6 separate regions of the Homo sapiens genome follow, and regions 2, 3, 4, 5 and 6 are each linked to region 1. The links are contacts of gene promoters, found by promoter capture Hi-C in blood cells and fetal thymus (Javierre and others, 2016). All regions are on one chromosome and are shown on one strand. The core of a region is centred on a gene start or on the middle of the fragment in contact, and the rest is flanking DNA. Distances in the headings are between cores, read along the strand shown.

Region 1 (2,570 bases), core at 23-2,522:
CAAACCCCTGGATGCAACCCGTTCCCCGCGCCAGGCTAGCTGCGGGCGGCGGGGTGGGCAGCGGCAGCCAAGGGACAAGCCAGCCCGGGGACAGCGCGGAGCCACTAGGGCCGGCGGGCAGGCGGGGGATCTGCGGGACAGAATTCTCAGAGCGGACGGTGGCAAAGGGCTAAACCCACCCACACTCCCCGGGGCGCGGGACGGGACTGAACTGCGGTCACTAACAATGCAACGAAGAGGACCTTCCCTTCCCTTCGCCACTCCCCGCGCCGCCAGGCCTGAAGATACACACACTCCGGCACACCCCACACACCCATCCACTCCGCCCCAGTCCGGATCCGGGTGGCGGAGGTGGGGCGGGGGGAAGGTGAGCGGTGCCTCGCCCCGGGGTACCTGCCGGCAGCGCAACCCAGCGGCGCCCCCGCCTCGGTGAGGACAGTCGGACGCGCGGGAGGAAGAAGGCGCTCCCGACCGCGGCACAGATGCTCACGGGCTTAGCACCTGGAGAGACCCGGGGCGGCGGCGGCGCGCGGTGGCAGCGCGAGAAGTCCCCGCCGCGACCCTCTCCCCGCCGCACAACTTTGCGCTGTCGGCGCCGCCCTAGCGCCTGCCCAGCTTCCTTACCCAAGTACTGCCGCAGGTCGAGCAGGAAGCGAGGGGGTCCCCCGCTGAGCTGATAGAGGAGGGAGCCCAGGCAGAAGACCAGCAGGGTGGCCATGCAGAAGCCGTAGTCCCGGAGGGAGAAGCGCAGGAAAGGCAGCAGGGGCACCCGACGCTTCCAGCTGCCCAGGCCCGGAGGGGCGCCCCCCATAGGGGCCCCATGGGGCCAGGGATCCGCGCCGCCGCCGGGATGCTGCTGCTTCTTCTTCATCGCCTGCTCCGCTGCCTCCCACAGCCTGCCCGTGCCAGGAAAAGGTCACCCATCCGCCGCGAGGAGGAGAGCCCGGCTGGCCGGCTGCACATGGGGAGGGCCGCGCGGAGGGCAGCCGGGTGGGGGCGGGGAGGGGCCGAAGTTGCCGGGCTCAGGAGACTTTCTTCGGCATGGTCCCCGCCGCCGCGGCCCGAGCGGCCGAGGTGTCCGGCCCCGGTTCGGGGCGCTGCCCGTGACGGGGCGCCGCGCCCGTCCGGCGCCCGCTAGCGTCCCCACGCCCCGCGCCCCGCCGCGCCTCGGGCTCGCTTGCGGCCGCCGGGGCTCGCCTCCAGCGCCAGCGTGGACCCCCCGGCTTTGTGTCTGTAGGTCTCGGCGTGTTTTGTCCCGGTTCAGGCTTCTCTAAAAAACGGCAGGGAGGAACAGGAGGCGGACACCATCCCCTCGCTCCACCTCCTTGACAGGGGTTTTCCTCCTTCTCCTCCCCTTTCTCCCTCCGGCGCTCCGCAGCACTCTCCTCCCTCTCCCCTCCCTCTCCGCTCGGGTCTCGGGATTTCGCTCGGGTGTCACGTTACTGCTTCTGCTGGGGGCGGAGGGGGGGAGGCGGCGATTATTCGCAACAAGGAAGAAAGTTTCTGGGTGTTTTCTTTTTTTTTCCTTCCCCCGTTCTTTACAATCTGGATGCGGTTCCTGCGCCACCAGCGACCTCTTGGGGGCCCCGCTGACTTCCCTCTTGTAAACAGTCACCGGCAGGAAGAAGCACGACTGACTTTACTATTTACATTTTTTTCAGTTCAGAAAGTTGATTCTCCTTATATACCCCGTGCGAGCTGCTTACCCAAGGCTGATAAAAGGTACTAGAATACAGGCTCAAGACTTTGCTGAAATGGGAAAAGAGCAAGCGGTGCGAGTTATGGTCAAACACGCCCCAGAGGGCCAGGCGCAGCGCCTGAACTCCCGGGTAGGGTAGCCGAAGAGGACGCTCTGTTCTTGCTTTTCCTGGTCCTACAACTGCTCCACCTCGCAGTGCCCAGAGAGGCAAGTGGGGGGTGCATAGCGGACTCTAGGAGGTCATTGCCCTGCAGACATGAAGGGGAAAGAGCCCAGTCCGCCTATACGCTGATTTCATTGCTGCCTCTCTTCCCTCCACGGGAAAGCCTCTGGACCTGAAAGAACCTCCTGGGGCAGAAAAGGCTCAATCCTAGACATAGATCCTCTGATGGGGTGGTTGATCCACGGAAGGGCTGCTCTGATCAGCCACACTTTAAGTAAGAATACTATATCACTATTTATAGAAGCTGTAGCACCTGAGGGCTGTGTGACTCACCCGAGGTCCCAAAGCTAGTAGTAGGAGTTGGGTTGGGAGTTGCACTCAAATCTATTTGACCCTCAGACCCACTATACTAACCACTGCACAGCAGTACTTCCCAGCCAGAGCCCTTTTCCTTCACGTCCCATAGGAGGATGAGATTTAATTCATTTAGTTCAGGCCACATTGAGAAATGGAAACCTCAGTTTCTGGTGCCTATCATTTCTGGCTCCCTACTCATTTGTATATTCCAGTAATGAACAATTGGATTTAAGAAGGAACCAGGAGCCAAGAACCTCTATGATTCTAAGACTAGGCTCCTGAAAACCTTCATCAAGTTAGGCATCTGAAGAATATTCTGTGGAAAATTACAAAATATTATCCTAGACAAAG
Region 2 (2,570 bases), core at 52-2,551, 800 kb before region 1:
TCTCCACTATTGTCCTTCTGGCAAACTTACTACTTATTATCTAAATCTCAGATCAAGCATCATCTCTTCTTTGAAGCTCTCCCTCCTTTCTAAGCAGAGTTACCTGAGGGTTCCTCTGCTGTGTCTTAGGTCTTTTATAAACCACATGACACATTTTATTTTAACATTTACCTATTATCCTGGTGTTGTTTACAAGCGTGCCCTCGCTCAAGAATGTAAACTCCAATGAGAGCAGGAACTATACCATAATTATCATCTCTATATCCTGAGTACCCAGTACAATGTCTGCTACTTTTAGGGCACACACTAGAGGTTCATTATGATGACTAATGGATATAAATGTGTTGTATTAGTTAGGACCCTTTGTTCAAGTGATAGAAACCCAACTCAAACTGGCATAAACAAAATAATTGGTTGCCTCATAATACTGGGGTAAGCTTGGATCGAGTGGCTGGATCGAGTGTTTCAAAGAATATCATAGGGAATTTTGTTTTTTATCTCTTGATTTTGCTTTTCTTTGAGTTCCTTTGACGCTCTGCCCATGTAGAGTAGCACCTGGCAAAATAAATGGGCCTCTTTTCCCAGAGTTATGAGGAAATAAAGGGGTGTAGAGCTACCCCACCCAATTAACAAGCAGTGGGTCTGCAAAGATAAGCCCATAACAATAAGTCCACCCCCTGTACATATTTGTAAGCATATGACTGGAGATGTGCTTACATGTGTACCTGCTATATTTATACTCACTTATCAATCTATGATCAACATATCCAGACTTACCTACCTTCCATTCTTTCTTCCTTTTCTTTTTTAACTTTTTATTATAGAAAATTTAAAACACAGATGTAGAGAGAATCATGTAAATGAACTCTCATGTCCACATGACCAGCTTTGTTTAACAGCTGTGAACACATAGCCAATCTTGCTTCATTTATAATACCCCCACCTCCAGTGCATCTATTTAATCTGTAATTACTTCAGTATGTATTTCTAAAATATAACGTCTCTTTAAAAAAAACAAGAAAAAATGGAACTATGAGCTTAAGTACCACATAAGTGACAGGTTAAAAAAGAAAAAAAACTTGACAGGGAAAAGGGAAAAATACTAAAGGAAAGAGAAAAAGTTGTAAAAAAGAATAAAAAAACAGAACCACAGATCTTATCACACTTTGAAAAAACTAGCAATAATTTTTAGTATCATTTAAACTTTCTTATTATCTCATAAACTTCTAAAAAATATGGTGATTTAAATTAGGACCCAAAGTCCATATATTGGTTAAAATGTCTCATATATGTTTTAATCTATTGGTTCTCCCCCTTTTTTCCTTGAAAAAATTTTGAGAAACAACCTGGGTGCTTTGTCTTGTAGAATTTCTCTTGTTTGGATTCGACTGATTATTTACTGGGTGCGTTAACATATTTTTGTGTCCCCTGTTTCCTATAAATTGTTCTTTAGCTTCAGAGCCTTGATTAGGTTCCAGTTTAATGTTTTTGGCAAGAATATTTCATATAAGATAGTGTGTACTTTCAGCTGCATCACATTCAGGAGGCACTTGATGTCTGGTTGGCTCTGTGATGTTAAAATTGGTCAGTGGGTTAAGGCCTTGTTGCGCTTATAAATTGTTCCCATCGGATTTTGATGAAAGACCTAAAGATTTTGGCAGCCATTGATGATCATTGCCTAAATTCATTATTTTTGTTTCTAGTAAAAGGACCACCCCTATCTGTTAAACATGAAGCCCAGAAATATATTCAAGAAAAACAACTGCAAGACTGATATTCAGCACTCTTCAACAGCTCAGCCCCATCTTATCTCTCCAGTCTTTTCATGCTCTATTACTGTGTAATACCAGACTATTACAGAACTTTGGTGTTTTGGACCTCCCCTAAAACATTTAAATTTCCACTTCCAGGCCTTTTCATAGTCTTCCAGACCTAAAATGCTCACCCTTCACTCTCTGCTAGTCCAGTTCTTTTAATGCTTGCCTTAACCTTCCCTGAGGTTTTCTAATTTCCCTAGCCAGAAACAATCTTTTGAACTCTTGTGGAATTTTTAAAACTACTTTTTTTACCATTTTAAATAAGTGGCACACATGTTATTAATTAGATATGCCCAGTATGTAACTACTTGTGTTCAGATGTAAGGACCCTAATTTAATGTAAGCTTTTTGAGGGCAGGGATTGCCTCATATATCTTACTGTCTGTTTGGTTTCTAACTTAGTGCCTTAAGAGCTTGTTAATGTGTCTTTCCACGACTAGACTGTGAACTTTTTGGGAGCAGGGACCACAGTTTAATGGCATTTGTGATGGCAGTGTCAGGCATCTAGAAGGTACTCAGTAAATGTTTATTGGATAAGCAGATTAACTTGTATGAGAAAGGTTGTTCATAAGTGTATGGATTTTTATAAAGGGCTGTTTAACTATTATTTAAAAAATGACCCCGGGTGTTTGACTTTTTCCTAATTGATATAATCCGTATCCATTTTTATATATTCTGCTAGATCCTTTTCTACTACAATATGCTCTTTAAGTGTTCTTTTTTCTCGTAATAAAATCAATCCATCAGTAAATG
Region 3 (2,570 bases), core at 44-2,543, 780 kb before region 1:
AACATTTATATATGTATGAGTATGCATACATTATTCTACAGTAATGTTAGATGTTAGATATTCTATAATTCGACTATATTTGGACTAGAAAAGTGTTGTGATTTTAAAAGTCTTTAGCAGTAGTTTACTTTTGCCAAAGGAAAATTAAATATTTTTATTCTTACTTCAGTGCTTAAGGGAATTTAGGACTGTAGGCCTATATAAGGCACTTAGAGTAGAATTTAGATAATTTAGTTACTGCTCTGGTGAACTACTTTTAAAAAAGAATTGTTATTAAATGAATTTGGAAAAATAATCTATGAATTTAACTTTGCCTTGTAGTAACTGACTTATTTCTTCTTCAGTTTTGAAGAGTGAGAGTGAATGCTTTCTTCCTTTTTTTTTTTTTTAAGTCACTTTTAAATACTTTCTTTCAGTTGTGAAGTTATCCGAGACTGGAAGACAGGAGAGTCCCTCTGTTACGCTTTTATTGAATTTGAAAAGGTATGTCATAATACAGACATAAGTTTGGTATTTATTTGCTTTTATATGGTATTAAAATGTGAAAAATTATAGAACTTTTTCTAGTTTCTAGAGTTGCCCTTTCTTTTGGCACTCCCCAAAATTAAGTTTATTGTATCTATATAGGGGATAAGTTCAACATCTGTTGATGTTAACATACGTACTTTTACTTTAGGTTCAGGTGCAATCTGCATGAAAGTATCTTTAGAACTTTTTTTTTTTTTGAGACAGGGTCTCACTCTGTTGCCCAGGCTGGAGTGCAGTGGCGCAGTCTCGACTCACTGCAGCCTCCGCCTCCTGGTTCAAGCGATTCTCTTGCCTCAGCCTCCCCAGTAGCTGGGATTACAGGTGCCCACCACCATGCCCTGCTAATTTTTTTGTATTTTTAGTAGAGACAGGGTTTCACCATATTGGCCAGGCTGGTCTTGAACTCCTGACCTCAAGCAATCCACCTGCCTCGGCCTCCCAAAGTGCTGGGATTATAGGCATAAGCCACAACACTCAGCCAATCTTAGAACTTTTTAAGTTCTAAGTAAAGCCCTTCAGAGACTCTTAATTTTTCCCTGTTACTTAAGTGGAGATAAAGTTGAGTAATAGAAAGAGAACTGAACTGGGTGTTAAGATTTAGATATTAATACATCTTTTGTTATTAGCCAGCTATTGTATGATACTTGGCAGTTTAGTTAACCGTTCTTTCTAGGTCTTACCTTCTTATAAATAAAACTTGGGTATTAGAATAGATGGCCCCTTCTAGAGCTGTAATAATGATAGCTTATGTTGCTTAAATATTTACTTTAAGCTAGGCATTATGTTACTTTTGCTGCATTTAATCCTCACAGTTCTGTAAGATAGGGACCATCCCCTTTTCCAAATAAGTTAACTGAGACACATAATGCTAATGTGACTTGTTCAAAATCACACACCTAGTGAATGAATGTCATAGCTGGGATTTGAACTCAGATATGTCTGATTCTGTTCCCATTGAGTTTACACTGTGCTATGGTATGCTCTTTTTTAATGCAACTTTGGACTCATATGTATCCAGTAGTAGCTCATTCTAAGTTCTAATTATTACAAAGCATTTATGGAATACCTTTTATGTTTTCAGACACAGCAATAAGGCCTAGGGATACAAGATGAATCATGGAGGGTTGGGGAAGATAGACCATAAAGTTATATGTAGGCACTGTGTCAGATGTACCAGAAATGATACTTACAAGGTACATTGGTGCCAGCAGAAAGACCTTTACCTTTGGTTTGCTGTGAAAACTTGTAGACCTGCACTAGCATTCTATCATTGACACTATAGAATCTATTATTTATTTTCTCACAAATAAAATTTCATTTGTAGCACATAGACTAATGACTGCCCATGTTTTGAGTTTTTTGCAGCTATGCCATTTTCTTCTTTTTTTTTTTTCTTTTTATTTTTTTGAAACAGAGTTTTGCTTTGTCACCCAGGCTGGAGTGTAGTCGCATGATCTCAGCTCACTGCAACCTCCGCCTCCCAGTTTCAAGCGATTCTCATGCCTCAGCATCCCAAGTAGCTGGGATTACAGGTGCTTGCCACCACACCTGGCTCATTTTTGAATTTTTAGTAGATACAGGGTTTTATGATGTTGGCCAGGCTGGTCTTGAACTCTTGACCTTAAGTGATCCACCTGCCTTGGCCTCCCAAAGTGCTGGAATTATAGGCTTGAGCCACTGCACCTGCTGTTTTACTTTTTTATTGATCTCTAAGGATTCTTTATATTTTCTGGATGCAAGCTCTTTTTTGATTATGTGTGATACAGATATCTTCTCTGTGGATTTCCTTTTACTTTTTTTTTGTTTTTTAAGGGACAGGATCACTCTGTGTTGCCCAGGCTGGACTTGAGCTCATGGGCTCAAGTGATTCTCCAATTTTAGCTCCTGCATAACTGGGACCACAGGCATGCCTTTTTCCTTTCTTAATGGTGTCTTTTTATAAACAAATTTCTAATTTTAATGGTTCAGGTTGTCAGTATTTTTCTTCCTTTTTAGTGGCCTATTTAAAAAATATTTTCCTACTTCAAAGACATGAGGATATT
Region 4 (2,570 bases), core at 36-2,535, 750 kb before region 1:
GTAGTGCAGTGGCACAGTCTCAGCTCACTGCAACATCTACCTCCCAGGTTCGAGTGATTCTCCTGCCTCAGCCTCCCAAGTAGCTGGGACTACAGGTGTGCGCCACCATGCCCGGCTAATTTTTGTATTTTTAGTAGAGATGGGGTTTCACCATGTTGGCCAGGCTGGTCTCAAACCCCTGACTTCAGGTTATTAACTTTTTTTTTTTTTTTTTTTTTTTTGAGATGGAGTCTTGCTCTGTCACCCAGGCTGGAGTGCAGTGGCACGATCTTGGCTCACTGCAAGCTCTGCCTCCCGGGTTCACGCCATTCTCCTGCCTCAGCCTCCCGAGTAGCTGGGACTACAGGCACCCGCCACCATGCCCAGCTAATTTTTTTTGTATTTTTAGTAGAGACGGGGTTTCACTGTGTTAGCCAGGATGGTCTCGATCTCCTGACCTCGTGATCTGCCTGCTTCAGCCTCCCAAAGTGCTGGGATTACAGGCATGAGCCACTGCACCTGGCTGATTATTCACATTTTTAAAAGAGGATTTGAGAAATACAAACACAGGCCACTTTACACAATAAAATAGGCAACAATAACATACGTATGTTTGCAAGCATAAGCAGTTCTCAGCTCTACTAATGACAGTCACATGGGTATGACAGTTATGAACAGATGAGTGGTATTTATAAAGAAATAGGTCAAAAAGGGAAATGTATCAATGCATAGCCCTGTGGTTGGTAATTGTGTATGCTCAGCTTTATAACTGCAGTCATTTGAAATACTTTAAGAACAACCAGTGTCTTCCACTGGCTTCACTCAGATGCTAATCTCTGGAAACACTTGCACAGACACACTCAAAACACTAATAAGTTTCTAGGTGTTCCTTAATCCAATCAACTTGACACCTAAAATTAAGTCCCAAAGAACACCTCTTATCAACTCAGCACCCATACATACCTCCTTAAACCGTACTTAATTTCCAAATAAAGACAATGAGAAAGTTGTAGTTCTACCTATCATGATGCCAGTATCCTCTGATTGTGATTTTTGGGATTTTAGACATTATGGATTTTAGATTAGGCATTTTGATCTTTTGGGATTTCACCATTCAGGATTAAGGTGTTCGAGATTGTGTCTTACAGGATTATAAACCAAATCCCTTTTTGGGATTGGGTTTGTTTTGCCCCAGTCAGCCTTATTCTTCAGAGATTCTTCCAGTTTGTTGCTGTATCAATAGTTCACTTTTATTTTATTTTGTTTTATTTATTTATTTGGGATGGAGTCTCGTTGCCCAGGCTGGAGTGCAGTGGCGCCATCTCAGCTCACTGCAGCCTCTGCCTCCTGGGTTCAAGCAATTCTTCTGCCTCGGTCTCCCTAGTAGCTGGGATTACAGGCGCACACCACTATGCCTGGCTAATTTTTGTATTTTTAGTAGAGACGGAGTGTCGCCATGTTGGCCAGGCTGGTCTCGAACTCCTGACCTCAGGTGATCCACCCGCCTCAGCCTCCCAAAGTGCTAGGATTACAGGTGTGAGCCACTGTACCTGGCCAATAGTTCACTTTTATTGTTGAGTAGTATTTCATGGTATGAATATACTGTAGTTTGTTTAACCATTCACCCATTGAAGGACATCTGGGTTGTTTACAGTTTGGGACCGTAATGAGTAAAGCTGCTGTTAGTTTCTTTGTGAACACAGTCTTCATTTCTTCTGGATAACTGCCCAGTAGTGCAGTTGTTAGGTCATATGATAATTGCATATTTAAAGAAACTGCTGAACTGTTTTCCTGGGTGAGTCAGACTGCTTTACATTCCCACCAAGAACATATGGGCGATCCACTTCATCCGCATTCTCAACAACATTTAGTTGTGTCTCTGTGTTTTATTTTAGGCATTCTGGTAGGTATATAGTGATAGATATATAACTTACTCTGGTTTTAATTTTTATTTCTTTAATTGGTAATGTTGTTGAGTATCTTTTCATGTACTCATTTTGCCATCTGCATATCCTGTTAGGTGAAATGTTACTTTATATCTAATTGGATTTTTAGGTTTTTTTTTATTTTTGAGTTTTGAGAGTTCTTTATGTATTCTACATACTAGTTCTTTGTCAGATATGTTGCTTGCAGCTGTTTCCTCCCAATATATAGCTTGTCTTTCTTTTTTTTTCTTTTTTAAGACAGTCTCGCTCTGTCACTCAGGCTGGAGTACAGTGGTGAGATCACAGTTCACTGCAGCCTCAACCTCCAGGGCTCAAGCAATCCTCCCACCTCAGCCTCTTAGTAGCTGGGACTACAGGTGCCTGCCACCACAGCCAGCTAATTTTTTTTTTTTATTATTAGTGGAAACGAGGTCCCTATGTTGCCCAGGCTGGTCTCAAACTCCTGGTCTCAAGCAGTTCTCCCGCTTTGGCCTCCCAAAATGCTGGGATTACAGGTATGAGTCACCATGCCTAGCCTCCAATGTATGGCCTGTCTTTTAATAGAGTTTTGTAGAGTACAAGATTTTAATTTTTCTGCAGTTTATCAGTTTTTCCTTTTATGGATTGTGCTTTTGGTGTCAAAAGTAAGAACTCTGCCGAGCACTA
Region 5 (2,570 bases), core at 44-2,543, 670 kb before region 1:
CCAGACCTAAGCTGGAAGCAGGGTATAAAGCAGTGAAGAAAATGAGAGAATGTGGCTAAGATTAGGAAGACTAGCAAAAGGAGGAAGTAGCAAATTCAAAATGTGAAATTTTTGAAATATAAAGATGATTGTGCAGATTGAGAACTGAGAAATTACTATTGCTACCTTAGCACAAACTGGAATCAAAAGGACAAAATGACAGTTGGCCTAAGGTTTTCAGTGAGTACTACTTATTCTTTACTCGTTTCCAAATTTGGGAGCCCCTTGTTTCTTGTAATGTGAAGCCAGTAGTTACCTGTTAACTGTTAGCATATTAATAATAAACAGAGGCCAGGCGCAGTGGCTCATGCCTGTAATCCCAGCACTTTGGGAGGCCGAGGTGGGCGGATCACTTAAGGTCACGTGTTCAAGATCAGTCTGGCCAACATGGTGAAACCCCGTCTCTACTAAAATACAAAAATTAGCTGGGCATGATGGCAGGTGCCTGTAATCCTAGCTACTCAAGAGGCTGAGACAGGAGAATCGCTTGAACCCAGAAGACAGTGGTTGCAGTGGGCCGAGATCGCGCCACTGCACTCCAGTCTGGGTGGCTGAGCTAGACTCTGTCTCAAAACAAAAACAAAACAAAACATAATAAACAGTAGAAAAGAAAGAGATTATGGTTAATAAAGAGAGCAATACAGGTGGAAGTTTAAAAATCTTTGCTGTGTGTTTTTGTCATTCGATATTGAATATAATCATGCTTTGAGATACTTCATAACAAAAATCACCTATTATCATTCACTGGAATGGAAACTGCATATATTGCTTCTCATTCATTACCTTAGCAGAGCTTGGTTGTCTGGGTTAGCAAATTGGTGTTCTAAGATGTGTATGCTGTTTTATTACAAAAAGAATTTGGCAGTTCAGCAAAAGGGCACGTGAAAGACTTGTGTTAAAAACCAAAAGGTAGTAGTTAAGACTTCAATTCAGATTAATAAAATGTGGGCTTGTTTCATGTCACTCACTCTCAGGCAATGTGTTGGCTATCAGACCCAGTGGAGTTTAACCAGTGAGAGTCCCTGCTCTCTGCTGCTCATCGTTTAGTCAGAAGCCTGTCTCTTCACCTTTCTTGGGAAAGAATAAGACAGGATTTTTACATACTTTGCATTTAATTTTCTTCTTTCTTTCCTCTTCTCTTGACCAGTGTTCTCCAGAAAAATATTCTCCCATGTCCCTCTGCTTCAATTTTGAAGAAAAACAAAAAAGGACATTCATTATGTCTAAGAAGAAGCCACTCAAACACTTTGGTCCATGAAAAAGCAAACTTTAAAATTTGAAGTAAAGTTAGATGTAACAGAGGCCTCAGGTTGAAATGCCAATTTCTGAATTTTCCAGAATATCCACAAAGATCTCTACTTCTTCATCCCCCTCTGGCACCACACAGAAGATACCAGAAACATTATTTTTGGGTTTCATTGTTACATTTATCTATCCCAATAGTATGATTGTGCCTTATTTCAGTTTTCCAAATGCAAAGCGTTCCAGCTAATTAGTGGGCTGGCCTGGGAACCTACTGCTTCTAATACTAGTTCTAGGGGAAAATACATACTACATTCAAAATGGCTGTACCCACTGGTTAACTTGAATAAATGTTAGAAATTAACTTGGCCTTCATGTTAAGAGTCGTTATCATCAAGTCTGGGTGCGGTGGGGCACGTTTGTAGTCCCAGCTACTTGGGAGGCTGAGGTGGGAGAATAGCTTGAGCCTAGAAGTCCAGGATGGGCAAAACAGTGATACCCTATCTTAAATAAAAAAAGAATCATCATCAACTACTGACCTTTTGCCATGTATGAAGTTATTTGCTATGGGGACACAAAGACACACCTGTCCTGACAGTCATACCTTGGAGATATTGCAGGTTTGGTTCCAGACCACCATAATAAGGTGGGTATCACAATACAGTCAGTCACATGAATTTTTTGGTTTCCCAGTGCACATAAAATTGTTTACACTATTCTGCAGCCTATTAAGTGTGCAATAGCATTATGTCTAAAAACAAAATGTACATTCCTTAATTAAAAATACTTTATTGCTAAGAAATGTTAACAATCATCTGAGCCTTCAGCAAGTCATAATCTTCTTGCTGGTGGAGGGTCTTGATGGCCGCTGATTGATCAGGGTGATGGCTGCTGACCGATCAGGGTGGTGGCTGCTGAAGGATGGGGTGACTGGGGCAATTTCTTAAAATAAGACAACAATGAAGCTGGCTGCATCGACTGACTCTTTCTTTCATGAAAGATTTCTCTGTAGAATGTGATGCTGTTTGGTAGCATTTTACCCACAGTAACGTGGAGTCAATCCTCTCAAACCCTGTGGCTGCTTATCAACTAAGTTTATGTAATATCCTAAATCCTTTGTTGTCATTTCAATAGCGTTCACAGCATCTTCGTCAGGAGGAGATTCCATCTCAAGATACCACTTTTTCTCGTCCATAAACAGCAACTCTTTATTTGTTCAACTTTGATCATGAGAGTGCAATTCAGTCCCATCTTCATGCTCCACTGTTAATTCTAGTTCTCTTGCTATT
Region 6 (2,570 bases), core at 38-2,537, 630 kb before region 1:
CAGCGTTTTGGGAGGCCAAGGCGGGATGATCGCTGGGCCCAGGAGTTTGACACCAGACTGGGCAACATAGTGAGACCCTGTCTCTAAAAAAAAATCTTGTTTTTAATTAGCCAGGTAGAGTAGGACACCTGCAGCCCCAGCTACTCAGAAGGCTGAAGTAGCAGGAGCACTTGAACCCAGGAGGTTGAGGCTGCAGTAAGCCATGATCATCCCACTGCTGCATTCCAGCCTGGGTGAGAGCGAGACCCAGTCTCCAAAAAACATAAAATGGATTTCATCTTCATTCTTAGCAGCAATTCTTCCTTGAATGCTTGCTCTCTTCAACTATTTGGTTACATTCTGCACAGAAGAGGCAGGATAAAAAAATTCTTTTCACTAGTTTTCAGAGTAACAAATTTGGTCCCTAGCAACCTCCAAAGGTGACTATGATTTATTTTTAGTATCATTATAAACTCATGTGTCTTTAATATTTTGATGTGTTTCAATCAGTTTTGGTCATTATGTCCCCTCTTCAAGTTACTGGGAACAGCTTCAAGTTGGCTCCTCGGTATACGACATGAATCCAGTAGTTTTTCAAAGCTTCTCTGCTTTCTGATATGACAAGATGTTCTAGCTTATCATGTACATCTACTCCAGACTTGCAATCAGCCATTTCTCAAAGCAGCCCTGGTTACTTTTAGTGAGAAAGGGTAGAAGACTCTCTTGAAGTGTATCAAAAGGGGTGGGATATGAGTTTTTAGAAGGTGGAAAATCACTGCTTTTTGGTATACAGCCACAAATCTGCATTCTCCTCAAAGCTATAAAAAGGTCTGAATCATTAATTCCAGTTCCTCTTTCATTTTTCCCCAAACTCCTGCACAGACACAGAAATTACAGATAGTATCAAAGCATATATACCCTATGGCATTCATTCACTCCTTTAACCAACATTTACTGAGCATTCATTAGCAAGGAGAAAGGAATATGATCGCTGATCGCAAGAATCTCAGTCTAGTGGAGGAGAATAATGTGAACACAAATGAAATGCAGTATGGTAGGTGTTATCATAGAAATATGGATAAGGACAATGGGTGAAGGTCATCTGAGAAGGTTCCACTAAGTACATGGCACTTAAATATTAAGTGTTGCATATACTGAATGAAAAATACTTAATGCAGTACTTTGAAAAGAAATACCAATTTTAAACTTACAGATTCAATCGTCATGTTAAGAGAATTTAAAAACGGTAAAAAATTAAGTTAAAAAACCAAAGTGAAAACTATGCAATATTTTCACATTCTTCTAAGTTTTCAGATTTAATTACCAAATATAAAAATCAACTTTAAAGATATAAATTACACCTGCTGGTTATAAGTTATCTTACAGAATTCACAGCAGAAGGAAAAGATATGAGTAGTTCCAAAAAGAGGGAACTGTGCAACAGATAAACTTAAGAGAAAAGAGGATAGACACTTTTGTTCTCTCCCTGACAAGCAAGATGTTTAAAAAGAACAGGTACACAGAATTGGTAGCATGGCATGATCCTTTACTAATTTTAAAAAGTTCTGAACCAGTATACTGCAGGAAGGATCTGTCAAAAGAACAGAAACCCACCCAACTGAGAAAGGAAGAGCAGCCCCAAAAGAGACGCTGTCATTTAGAGGTAGCTTAATTTGCCCGTTTAAAAATATTGCTCTAAATTTGGGAAAACTTGCACCCCAGCTGAAACCACAGAGGAAGGAGCTCTTCCTATTCCTTTCTTGTCAGATTTCTTGTTATATCAGCTAAAAAGTACATTACCTGGATACCCTAAATTATTATCAACTCACTTTTAAAAAGTGTGGTCTGTTTCAGGCAAGCAAAGTATTTCATTTTCATTAACACCAGGTGTTGGGAAGCATGCTAAGTAGAGGAGTTTGCTTTTGTAAAGCCAGATTAACATAGGGAAGGTGATATTACTAGATGCCCAAAGGAAACGGAAAACCATTCATTTTTTATTTTTGGGTTAAAGCTTAATTATTTTATTTTTAAATAGATAATTTATTAACACAGATTAAAACAATAAAAAAAAGATACCTGTTGAGAAGTCTGAGTCCTAACTCTGTCCCATCAGGCCTGTTCCCTCTGGCCTACCATGGATAAACATCTTTTATTAATTTTGTTTTTAATTCTTCCAGTATTTCTTTATGCAAACAGAGACAAATACATGGATGTGTAAATATTTATTTGTCTTGCTCTGTCTATATACTCTGCTCTGCATCTTGTTTTTCTTAACACATACCAGAGATTATACTGTAAGAGTACATTAGAGTGCTCTATTTTTTTTTTGAAAATATTTTAAAGTAATTCTACAAAAGGCTCTATGTTTTACTCCCAGTTACGGTATTTCAAAATCTCTATACCTGTACTATATGTAGGGAAATGCTCTGGACAGTTCTTTCAATACGAAGTCTACAGAAATTTATCAAAGAACTTACAGTATCTTTCTGTTAGTTTTTTAATAACCTACTGAACAGCATAGCTTTATTTTACCACAAAATTCTCTTTTACTTGAAAAGTTAGGGAGAAGTTACTTGGGTTCTAGGGGGGAG

What was found. Contacts are between HindIII fragments. The CHiCAGO score rates a contact against its expected background, and 5 or more counts as called.
Region 2: a fragment that was not itself captured here is called in contact with the fragment with the promoter of UST in region 1 in 3 of 17 cell types (total B cells, naive B cells and naive CD8 T cells); the score reaches 7.4 in total B cells.
Region 3: a contact is called between a fragment that was not itself captured here and the fragment with the promoter of UST in region 1, in 3 of 17 cell types (total B cells, naive B cells and megakaryocytes). The highest score is 7.9, in total B cells.
Region 4: a contact is called between a fragment that was not itself captured here and the fragment with the promoter of UST in region 1, in 1 of 17 cell types (total B cells). The highest score is 6.1, in total B cells.
Region 5: a fragment that was not itself captured here is called in contact with the fragment with the promoter of UST in region 1 in 2 of 17 cell types (naive B cells and total B cells); the score reaches 8.5 in naive B cells.
Region 6: a fragment that was not itself captured here is called in contact with the fragment with the promoter of UST in region 1 in 2 of 17 cell types (total B cells and naive B cells); the score reaches 6.2 in total B cells.

The regions. Positions count from the first base shown.
Region 1 is chr6:148,745,732-148,748,301 of GRCh38, reverse strand. It overlaps UST (uronyl 2-sulfotransferase), which reads right to left and starts at 1,272. Exons shown (of 8, transcript NM_005715.3): 1 at 625-1,272. The coding sequence starts at 871. RefSeq lists enhancers at 1-135, 1,444-1,523, 1,584-1,643 and silencers at 314-483, 784-873. The HindIII fragment of the contact is 11,485 bases long and covers 1-2,570 here.
Region 2 is chr6:149,542,149-149,544,718 of GRCh38, reverse strand. All of the region lies in intron 1 of PPIL4 (peptidylprolyl isomerase like 4), which reads left to right. Among named protein-coding and RNA genes, the nearest start is that of PPIL4, 2.6 kb to the left of the region's middle. The HindIII fragment of the contact is 1,724 bases long and covers 440-2,163 here.
Region 3 is chr6:149,523,056-149,525,625 of GRCh38, reverse strand. It overlaps PPIL4 (peptidylprolyl isomerase like 4), which reads left to right. Exons shown (of 13, transcript NM_139126.4): 9 at 417-483. Among named protein-coding and RNA genes, the nearest start is that of PPIL4, 22 kb to the left of the region's middle. The HindIII fragment of the contact is 2,601 bases long and covers 1-2,570 here.
Region 4 is chr6:149,498,409-149,500,978 of GRCh38, reverse strand. No RefSeq gene overlaps it. Among named protein-coding and RNA genes, the nearest start is that of ZC3H12D, 15 kb to the right of the region's middle. The HindIII fragment of the contact is 7,040 bases long and covers 1-2,570 here.
Region 5 is chr6:149,417,077-149,419,646 of GRCh38, reverse strand. No RefSeq gene overlaps it. Among named protein-coding and RNA genes, the nearest start is that of SUMO4, 18 kb to the right of the region's middle. The HindIII fragment of the contact is 4,936 bases long and covers 1-2,570 here.
Region 6 is chr6:149,371,921-149,374,490 of GRCh38, reverse strand. The region is part of intron 2 of TAB2 (TGF-beta activated kinase 1 (MAP3K7) binding protein 2); the gene reads right to left. Among named protein-coding and RNA genes, the nearest start is that of SUMO4, 27 kb to the left of the region's middle. The HindIII fragment of the contact is 1,411 bases long and covers 582-1,992 here.